4 separate regions of the Homo sapiens genome follow, and regions 1, 2 and 3 are each linked to region 4. The links are contacts of gene promoters, found by promoter capture Hi-C in blood cells and fetal thymus (Javierre and others, 2016). All regions are on one chromosome and are shown on one strand. The core of a region is centred on a gene start or on the middle of the fragment in contact, and the rest is flanking DNA. Distances in the headings are between cores, read along the strand shown.

Region 1 (2,700 bases), core at 158-2,657, 300 kb after region 4:
GCTTCATCCTTTCAGACCTCTGGTATAACCATATCATCCCTTGCTCTGGGTCTCTTTCAAAGTGTTAGCATAATATTGGATTTCCCTAATTGGGTTATTCATTCCATACCCTCAGCTATTATTCTTCATTCTCTCATTTATACCCAAACTTTTCTACCTTTGGAAGGGACATTAGGAGAGGCCACTGTGCTAGTCCAGATTGCTGGCAACAATAGTAGTTTAACAAGTGCCTCCCCTTCAGTCCACTCCAATTTATATAGATTAGGGCTATATAGCTACAGGACTAATGGACTATCTTAGCCACTGGATGATACAGCAGCATTTACTGTCAACTCAAATTTTGCCAGATGGGTTGAGGGCACAACTTAACCTATAGGGTCCTTAGAAATGCTGAAATAAAGATTTAAAGGTATAGTTACAATGTCTTGCCTAGGAATTATCTATGCTTCTGGCACCTGCAGATGTATCTCTAGTCCTGGAACCTCTGCATCAGATGGCAAAAAAGAAAGTTGAGGTGATGTGGGCAAGAATCATATAGTCATACCAACACCCTCCCTCAACCCCTCTCCCCTAGATTTTCCTAGAAAAATGGAGGAATCTCTCCAATGGGGATTCTCCCTTGGCCCCCTCATGGTGCATGTGAGCATACCCTCATGAAAACATTTAAACAAGTGCTTCATAACTTTATCCCCTCCCCCATTTTACTTGATTTTTAAATTTTATTTTCTTATTTTATTTGGTTTTTTTTTTTTAGAGACAGGTTCTTGTTTTGTTGCCCAGGCTGGAGTGCAGTGGCATGATATCTCACTGCAGCTTTGAACTCTTGCGCTAAAGTGATCCTCCCGCCTCGTCCTCCCAAAGTGCTGGGATTATAGGCATGAGCCACTGCACCCTCACTCACCTCATTTTAGACAATGAATGTTTCAAGTGCTCATTCCAATTCCCTATTAAACTGCTACTCTGAGGATGACAATGCAACGTGGTATGTCTGTTTGATGTGATATCTCTTTGTCCACTGTTGGACATCATGGGCTGTAAAGTGTGACTCTTGGTTTGAAGAAATGTAACTTGGTGGTCCAAATTAGTACAGTATCTTTTGTTCCAATAATTTAATAGTATTTTCAGCATTCGTATCTACCACTAGGTGTGCAAAGCCCAGTCCAAAGTAAGTGTCTATTCCTGGCCGGGTGCAGTGGCTTACGCCCGTAATCCCAGCACTTTGGGAGGCCAAGGCAGATGGATCACCTGAGGTCAAATTTTGAGACCAGCCTGGTCAACATGGTGAAACCCAGTCTCTATTAAAACTACAAAAGAATTAGTCAGGTGTGGTGGCAGGCGACTGTAATCCCAGCTACTCGGGAGGCTGAGACAGGAGAATCACTTGAACCCAGGAGGAGGAGGTAGCAGTGAGCGGAGATCACACCACTGCACTCCAGCCTGGGTGACAGACCAAGACTCCATCTCAAAAACAAAAAAACCAAAAAACCAAAGTAAGTGTCTATTCCTGTCAGACCCCATTTGTAGCCCCCAGGGCTGCCAGCATTTGTTCAATGTAATCTATCTACCAGCTATGTGTGAGGCCTTCCAACGGGGGAATGTGCCCCAGGGCCACCTGCATTCTCTGTCTCTCTTGCTGGCAGACAAAACAGTTCTTGTTGGCATTTTGTGCTTCAAAGGGTGCAAGAGGAATATGTCTAGATCTCTACATTGCCACAGTATTCTTAGGTCCACTCATTCCATGGACCCAGGTGGCCACCTCAAGTGAGCACACTGGGAAATTCACTCACTGGTGCCAATCACCTTCCAATCCAGGAAAGTGATTCTTCTATTGGGCATTGATATGTCCTACTTTAATCTATCCCTCAAATTTCCATAGTGATTTTCTTAGGGGATCCCTTTAAGAGGGCAGTTTTCTATTGCTCTTCAGCCTGACCATATGATCACGTCAGTATGCACCACCCATGAATCAGTAAAAACCCAAATGTAGTGGCAAACAGAATGCAATAGCCTATAAGGTAAGTTGTTTTTACCTTCTTAGCCTTCCAAACAAGATGCTGCACATTCACCTTGGAACTGCGATTATAAACCAAGAAGCTCTTTGCTGTTTATAGGACACTCTCCAGGTAGCAGTAGAATCTGACAGCTCCAGCCAGGTGCTGTGGCTCACGCCTATAATCCCAGCACTTTGGGAGGCCGAAGAGGGCGGATCACCTGAGGTCAGGAGTTTGAGACCAACCTGGTCAACATGGGGAAACCCCATCTCTACTAAAAATATAAAAATTAGCTGGGCATGGTGGTGCACACCTGTAATCCCAGCTAGTCGGGAGGCTGAGGCAGGAGAATCGCTGGAACCTGGGAGGCGGAGGTTACAGTGAGCAGTGAGCCAAGATCGCAACACTGCACTCCAGCCTGGGTGACAGAGCAAGGCTCCATCTCAAATAAAATATAAAATAAAATAAAATAAAATAAAATAAAATAAAATCTGGCAGCTCCTCAGGTGGTTCAAAAGTCAATTCTAGGGGAAAAAGTCTATCTGCTTGGAAATATGGTATCTCCTGGCATTCCCCCAGTGGTATGTTCCATCAGAAACAACTTCCATTTTGTTATGGAGCTCTTCCAGGCACTTCTCTCCCCATTGAATGGTTTCTCCAACATCATCCAAAATGTTATGGGTATTTTATGTTTAAGATTATTTTATAT
Region 2 (2,700 bases), core at 80-2,579, 400 kb after region 4:
AGCATTCTCTAGGTCCCAGTTTCCAGTTGATTGCATATCCTTGATCAGCCCTTTTTCCCATCCTGCCCTATGGTTCTCTAGCCACCTGTGCATGCATGTGTATTTCTGCCTGGTTCTATGGTGTGTGGATGTGTGTGCATGAATCTGTCATATAGAGGGGGTCCGAGCTGGAATCCTAGAGCATTGCTGCCCTGGGGCCTGATGTTCTTGGCTTCCTCAGAGCATGTAACAGGAAATTAAATGGGATGAGTGTTTGGTGTGGTTTGTGTCTGATGAGTTTTTTAACATTCAGGTGTAGATTGTTTCAGCTTCTCATGTTTCATTTTCCTGAAGATTTATGTTTTTGTCTACCTTGTGAGCAGGCTTTTGGAAGAACCTGTTTGATGCAAAAAAGAAAATGAAAAACAAAACAAAAAATCCCCAAAACCTTATTATGGGAGCCCGTCGGTCTTAGAAGCTGTTTGACATGTATAATAAATGGCATTGACTGGGCCTGTTTTACATTTGGTGAGAACATTCCATAATCTTCCCTGTGAATATTTGTTTTTCCTTCTCATGCTGAGGATTTCCATATAGAGTATTTTATTCTTCCATTTTAAATCTTATTTTTGCCTAGGTTTTTTTTTAGCATGAGTTATGTTTTCGTCTGATAAGGGATCTATGTCCAGAGAAGTCTGAACCAAAACGATTCCTATCATTTCAGACTCCTTTGATCTTTTGTTTTTGGAACAGCAGAGCTCAGGATTGAACATAATGTTTTTTCTTTTTTTTTTTTCTTTTTTTTGAGACAGTCTTGCTCTATCGCCCAGTCTGGAGTGCAGTGGCGTAATCTTGGCTCACTGCAACCTCCGCCTCCTGGCTTCAAGTGGCTAATATTGTATTTTTAGTAGAGATGGGGTTTCACCATGTTGGCTAGGCTGGTCTCAAACCCCTGACCTCAGGTGATCCACCTGCCTCGGCCTCCCAAAGTGCTGGGATTACAGGCGTGAGCCACTGCACCTGGCCCTTAGTGTTTTTCTTACTGTCTGCTAGACACAGAATTACTTAATTTTGGCACTGTTGAGATTTTGGGCCAGATTATCATTTGTTGTAGAAACCAATGCTGGCATTGTAGGATGTTTATTATTTTGATTTTGATTTAGGATTAACTTCATCCCTGGACTCTACCTGCTAGATGCCAGTAGCACCCTCTTCCACAATTGTGACAACTAAAAATGTCTATGCCTCTGAGAAAGGCAAAATCCCTCCCTACCCACATTGAAGACCACTAAGAAGAAGCTAGCTGTCTTCCCTACCTTGGTCTGATTTGAGAATTAGATGGCACAGACTGGCAAACTCAAAACAGAAACTCACAAAACTTTGATATCCACTGGATCAAGTACTATGCCAAGTCAAGGGGATGCAGAAGAAAAAAATAGCCATACATACACGAAGAACTACAGTCACATTAACTTCAAGCAGATGAAGCCTGTAACTTGCTGGTTCTATACCCTGAAAAAATGGACCTGTAAATGAATCTGTTTGGGTTAACAAGGCTGCCACCATATAGCTGGTTTTCATTCTCTGCCCCATCAAGCTCCTCAACTTTCTGTATTATCTGAACCACAAAGCACCATACACCTCCCTTTGGACTTTTGTACAAAATTCCCTTACTGTAAGACATGCCCTTTGTCTAATTTCTGATGCTGAATCTTGCCACTGGGAACACTGAATGTATCTTCACCTATGGGCTGAAGGCCTGGCTCAGTTTTAGATACAGTAAGTACTGGGCAACTGGGGGCAGATTGGTGCGTGCTTTCCTTGGCAGGATTATGTGCACTTCAGGTCCCTTGGGTGACAGTCTTCTTGTTGACTAGGTATTTTGTTACCCCTTTCAAGGCAGGCTGGAGGTTTGTGAGTTCCTTCCATGGTTCAGTTTTTTTTTTTTTTTTTTTTTTTTTTTGAGAGTGTCACTGTCACTCAGGTTAGAGTACGGTGGCACGATCTCAGCTCACTGCAACCTCCACCTCCCAGGTTCAAGTGATTCTCCTGCCTCAGCGTCCTGAATAGCTGGGATTACAGGTGGCCGCCACTATCCCCAGCTAATTTTTTTGTATTTTTAGAAGAGATGGCGTTTCACCGTGTTGGCCAGCTGGTCTTGAACTCCTGACCTCAAGTGATAGCCCTCCTCGGCCTCCCCAAGTGCTAGGATTACAGGCATGAGCCACCACCCCTGGCTTCATTCTTCAGGAAACCATCTAGTTCAATTTAGCTTCAAAGAATGTCTTTCCCTTTTTGGTACAGTGGGATCTTACCTCTGGTTGCATCTAAAAAGCAATTCTGAATTTAAGAATCTTTAAACTCTTGGGACTGGTTAAGTGGTTTGAGTCTCAAAGGGACCTAAGTCATGGAGTGTCTGGAGGTGCTCAGGGTGGCATCTTGGAAAAGTAAATGGAATGGAAATTCAAGAGCCCACAGCAATCCCAGATAACTCAGAAATCTCAAAGAGAAGCTGCTTTCAGGTCTTTTTTGAGACAGTCGCTCTGTTGCCCAGGCTGAAGTGCAGTGGCGCTATCTCGGCTCACTGCAAGCTCCACCTTCCTGGTTCATGCCATTCTGCTGCCTCAGCCTCCCGAGTAGCTGGGATTACAGGCGCCTGCCACCACGCCCGGCTATTTTTTTTTTTTATTGTATTTTTAGTAGAGAGGGGGTTTCACATGT
Region 3 (2,700 bases), core at 67-2,566, 380 kb after region 4:
CACCTTGGTCTCTCAAAGTGCTGGGATTACAGGCGTAAGCCACCACACCCAGTAGAAAACTCTTTAATTATTGGGAAGCTGTCAAGCTTATGATGGAAGATGCAAGTTTTCTAAAATTCTTTTTTTTTTTTTTTTGAGATGTAGTTTCACTCGTTGCCTAGGCTGGAGTGCAATGACGCGATCTCGGCTCACCACAACCTCTGCTTCCCAGGTTCAAGCGATTCTTGTGCCTTAGCTTCCCTAGTAGCTGGCATTACAAGCATGCGCCACCACGCCCAGCTAATTTTTAGTAGAGATGGGGTTTCTCTATGTTGGTCAGGTTGGTCTCAAACTCCCGACCTCAGGTGATCCGCCCGCCTTGGTCTCCCAAAGTGCTGGGATTATAGGCTTGAGCCACCATGCCCTGACTAAGTTTTCTAAAATTCTAACTTTCACCTGAATACTTGAATTTTTTCACTGCCTACAAGTACTGTCAGATGTTTTCCTTGAGGTGACGAGGCTCACTTCGTTTATTGTTGTAAAAATGTCTGCCAAATATTTAAGTTTGAAAAACCATAATTTATCTTTCAGTTGTTAATTCAAATAAAACAAGATGTTCTATGAAAAAAGTAGCTAGATCAGCTTGCAACTTGAACAATGGCATAAGCATTTTCCCTACCTTGGCGTGCAGAAGTGCTTTATGTGTACTTCCCATTTTGTCATAGCAAATATTTAAAAATAGGGTCCTCAAGGGTCAAGATTCAATAAAATCAGTAAGTTTTTGGCCAGGCATGGTGGCTCAGCCTAGCACTTTGGGAGGCCAAGGTGGGCAGATTGCCTGAGCTCAAGAGTTCCAAACCAGCCTGGGCAACATGGTGAAACATGTTGTAGGTTTCTTGTATGTTTTTTGTATTTCTGTAAAAATACAAAAAATTAGCTGCATGTGGTGGTACCCGCCTGTAATCCCAGATACTCAGGAGGCTGAGGCACAATAATTGCTTGAACCCGGGAAGTGGAGGCTGCAGTGAGCCAAGATCGTGACACTGAACTCCAGCCTGGGCAACAGAGTGAGATTCTGTCTCCAAAGAAACCCCAAAACAAACAAAGTTTTACCATTTTATCAATGACATAGTTAAGTAAAACTGAATTTTTTAAATTAATTAATTAATTAATTTATTTATTTACTTACTGTGAGTGCATGGCAGTGAAGAACACACTGGCTATTAGTACAGTTTAGTGTCACTGTCTTAATGTATGCTAAGGCACCAGCAGTTCTACTCACCAGCGCTTTTGTGCCTTCAGTGCAAATGTTAACACAACGAAAAAGGCAGATAATGTCTTAGAATTATTATAGAAGGGCCAGGCGCAGTGGCTCACGCCTGTAATCCCAGCACTTTAGGAGGCCGAGGTGGGAGGATCACTTGAGGCCAGGAATTCAAGACCAGCGCAGCCAACACGGTGAAACCCCATCTGTACTAAAAATACAAAAAATTAGCTAGGTGCGGTGGCACATCCCTGTAGTCCCAGCTACTCGGAAGGCTGAGGCAGGACAATCGCTTGAACCCGGGAGGCGGAGGTTGCAGTGAGCTGAGATCACGCCACTGCACTCCAGCCTGGGCGACAGAGCAAGACTCCGTCTCAAACAAAACAAAACAAAACAAAACAAAACAAAACAAAACAAAAGAATTATTATAGAAATAGTTTTGACCATGAAGATCCCTTGAAAGAGTCTTGTCCCCACAATACTGAGTTTTCTATTGTTAATACTAAAATGGATATTAACTCTCTAGCATAATCTTAACACTATAGTATGGAAATTTTCAAAGACACAATATAGAGAATAGTATTACAGGTCACCATTTATCCATTACCCAGCTTCAACAACCATTAACATCTGCTATTCTTATTTCATTTAAGCCCTGACATGTTTTTCTTACATATTTTTAAATAAATCCCAGACGTCATATCATTTCATCCATAAATACTTCAGTATGAATCTCTAACTCATACGGACATTTAAAAAACCCCAAAGACTCTATCTTTATTATAACTAACAAAACTAACAGCAACTCCTTAATATTATCTAATGCTAAGCCATGGTCAGTTTTCCCCAGTTGCCTCAATAATATCTTTTTATGGTTGATTTATTTGAATCAGCTTCAGAATGAAGTCTATGCGTTGTAATCAGCTGATATGTCTATTTAATCTACAATAGTTTCCTTCCCTCCCCAACTTTTTTTTTTTATTTTAAAAAGGTCATTTATTAACTGAGGAAATTGGGCCATTTGTCCTAAAAAAAAATTTTCACATTCTAGATTTGGTGAACAATATGCTTGATGTGCCATCTAACATGTTCCTCCATCTCTAGTATTTCCTGTAAACTGATAGTTAGTCCAAAGATCTGATTAGATTCAAGTTCAATTTACTTGGCAAGAATACTTCCCAGGTGGTGCTGTGTACTTCTTCTTGCATCACATCAGCAGGAACATAATGTCTAGTTGTCCTACTTTTAGTGATGTTAAAACTGATCACTAGTGAGGACAGACTGATCCATCATAAATTCCACAGTAAGCTTTTCATCTAATAGTTTGAAAAATCATTGATGATCACCACTTTGGGATTTTACACTGTCTCTTTAACCTTCAAAAATTAGTTATATGTAGAAAGAAACAGCTCAATGAATTTAGGATCCCAAAGAATTAACCTTAACACAAGGAAAAC
Region 4 (2,700 bases), core at 136-2,635:
CAAGTTTCAAATGTAGCAATAAATTCAAAAGTACCGGGAGGCAAATCCATTCACTAAACCCTGATTTAAATCGGTACTTTTAACAGAAGAAAAGGTAAATTTTTAGAATGCACAATTTTGTTTTGAAATGTAAAATTCCAGGTATCATCTGACTGCTCTATACAGCTTGCTAAGGAAGCTAGTATACCATTAAAGATGAGCTAGTATACTGTTAAAGATTAGAGACTCCACCTAAGAGCTAAATTTACAAGATTCAAGACAAGAAGAACAAAAGCAAGACACAAACACATAATATCCTCACAACACTAACAAAAGCTTCATTTGTTAGAAGCAACAGCTATTTCGGCTGTCCTATTTCTTTTACACAAGTTGACCACAGGCAGTCTTAACTAAGATGTTGCTCATCTGAAGAACTCAAAATAGTGGTCAAAAAAGTGTGAGATAAGGCAGAGAATACTGGATTCTAGTCCCAACTTCTGACAGACTTTTCTGGCACTGGTTCCTTTTCCAGAAAAGTAGATTTAAAATAGATAAATTCTAGGGTCCTTTCCAATCCACCCCACCGCACAAAGCATACTGGTTTGGGGTCATTAGTGGTGTTAGAATGCTGATCATTCTTAGATAGCAAAAATCTGAATAACAACACATTTATAAGCAACTGAGGAAAACAGGAAACCCAATTCCTTCCGATACCGGTTTTATTTGGAAAACTTTACTGGTTTTGTTTTGTTTTTGACAATTCCTTCAAAAGAAGGAGGTTTTGTTTTGTTTTGTTTGACGAGTCCTTCAAAAGAAGTGGAGGGGGGGCAAAATCCTGAAATGAACATTGCTGCTACAATGCTTGGTTTTCCGAACTGTAGATATTGCAACTTTCAAGGTACAGAACCGAATAAATGGCCTAAAAACAAAGGTTGGACTTGGAGTTTTTCAAAGCAAATGAGGCAGAATTACGGATGCCACAGCTCAGGCAAGGGGTCCGAAGGGACCCCCATTTGAAATGCTCTCTTTAGTTCTTACTATGAAAGTGAGTCCCTGAAGCCTCCAAACGCAACGAAATGTCTCTGGAGCTCAGAAAGACTGGACAAGCCCGAGACAGGCCCGCAGACTTACCCGACCCAGACCAACCGGCTCCTACCCAGCAAGAGCCGCTCGCCCCCCACCCCGTTTATGGAGACCCAGTGAGGCCTTAGGACTCTGGGAAACCATTCCCTAGTCCACTGGACCCTCCTTCCTTCTGCAAGGCTCGTGCCTCACTTGATATTCTTGTCTATAGTCCCCTCAGCCTCCAAAAAGAAGACCTCCGCCTGCCAAAGACCCTCTTTTACCTTCTTCAGCTCTAGATCCACGGGGGCGGCCATCTTGGTGCACTGTAAGCGCCTGCGCAGTGGGAGTTGGACTGAAATAGGGTGGGGAAGGGCGCGTCTTACTTTGTGCGCCGGTCTTTCTTCTGCGCCTGCGCATGAGTTGGACTAACCGGGCTTCTTATCTTTCTCTGAGAATTGACTCCTGAAATATTTGGGTTTCGGATTCCGTGTCTTCACTACCTGACCGGTCAGGTCTGGCTTGCTCCTCCGTATCTTCCAGACATAGCCCAACGCGCAGATTTCCCATGTGGCTTTAAGCAGTTTGCCAGCTAGCTTAATATGTGCTGCTAAATTGAGATGTATGTAGATGAGGTCAAACCCTCATCAGTCGATCAGTCCTTCAGCTAGTCGCTGTGCTCTCAGGAATGAGTAAGAGTAAGTCCAGAACCTCAGGCATGACAGTTTGGGAAAGACTATTGGAAAGCTTGTCTGGAGTGTTCTTTCCAAAACGAACTTATTACTTCCAAAAGCTTCCCAAAGACATTCTAGGCACAGTGGTTCTCAAGAGAGGCTGAATACGTTTGTTTAAAAACAAAAAAATGCAGGTTCTCTGGGTCTCATCTCAAACGTACTCAGAATCTTTGAGAATGGGGTCTGGAAATTTGCACTTTTGCAGACTACCCCAGTGACCTAATGGTGCAACTCCTCCGCGGATCACTTTTTTGAGAATCTCTGCCATAAAAGGACCTGGCATTTGAACCAGAATAGATAATAATTGACTTTTGGAAATGGAAAAAAAAGTTAACCTACTCTAAAAACTGTTATGCTAAGAGAAAGTGCTACATAAATAATTAGGAAATTTATTTTATTTTTTAAAAAAAGAAAGAAAGAGAGAAAGAAAACAAACTGTTAGGGAGATGAAAGGGCAGGGAATTTGGAACCAGCCTAATCTAGATTCAAGGCTTGGTCTGCCTTTAGCCTATGTCTGGTTCCATTTACTAATTGTGTGACTTTAAGCAAGTCACTTGGATATTTTGTGGGGTTTTTTTTTTTTTTTGTACGTTTGTTTGTTTCTTGAGACAGGATCTTGCTCTGTCACCCAGGCTCGAGTGCAATGGTGCAATCACGACTCACTCCAGCCTCTACCTCCCGCGCTCAAGCGATCCTCCCACCTCAGCCTCGTGAGTAGCGCTGGGACTACAGGCGCGCGCCACCCACACTCAGCTAATTTTTATATTTTTGTACAGACGGGTTTTCACCTTGTTGCCCAAGCTGGTCTCAAACTCCTGAGCTCAAACAATCCGCTCGCCTTGGTCGCCCAAAGTGCTGTAGTGCTTTGATATTAAAGGCTTGAGCCACCGCACCCGGCCACATTTTTTTTTTTTTTTTTTTTTTG

What was found. Contacts are between HindIII fragments. The CHiCAGO score rates a contact against its expected background, and 5 or more counts as called.
Region 1: a fragment that was not itself captured here is called in contact with the fragment with the promoter of PFDN1 in region 4 in 1 of 17 cell types (monocytes); the score reaches 6.1 in monocytes.
Region 2: a fragment that was not itself captured here is called in contact with the fragment with the promoter of PFDN1 in region 4 in 9 of 17 cell types (fetal thymus, naive CD8 T cells, non-activated CD4 T cells and 6 more); the score reaches 12.0 in fetal thymus.
Region 3: a fragment that was not itself captured here is called in contact with the fragment with the promoter of PFDN1 in region 4 in 1 of 17 cell types (fetal thymus); the score reaches 6.0 in fetal thymus.

The regions. Positions count from the first base shown.
Region 1 is chr5:140,597,472-140,600,171 of GRCh38, forward strand. It overlaps a transcript of TMCO6 not described here. Among named protein-coding and RNA genes, the nearest start is that of SLC35A4, 34 kb to the left of the region's middle. The HindIII fragment of the contact is 4,151 bases long and covers 1-2,700 here.
Region 2 is chr5:140,706,163-140,708,862 of GRCh38, forward strand. ZMAT2 (zinc finger matrin-type 2) reads left to right here. Exons shown (of 6, transcript NM_144723.3): 6 at 1-524. Among named protein-coding and RNA genes, the nearest start is that of ZMAT2, 7.1 kb to the left of the region's middle. The HindIII fragment of the contact is 9,003 bases long and covers 1-2,700 here.
Region 3 is chr5:140,686,485-140,689,184 of GRCh38, forward strand. The region is part of intron 2 of HARS1 (histidyl-tRNA synthetase 1); the gene reads right to left. Among named protein-coding and RNA genes, the nearest start is that of HARS1, 3.5 kb to the right of the region's middle. The HindIII fragment of the contact is 2,465 bases long and covers 85-2,549 here.
Region 4 is chr5:140,301,716-140,304,415 of GRCh38, forward strand. PFDN1 (prefoldin subunit 1) reads right to left here and starts at 1,386. Exons shown (of 4, transcript NM_002622.5): 1 at 1,326-1,386. The coding sequence starts at 1,358. RefSeq lists an enhancer at 1,123-1,402 and a silencer at 1,291-1,495. The HindIII fragment of the contact is 1,473 bases long and covers 314-1,786 here.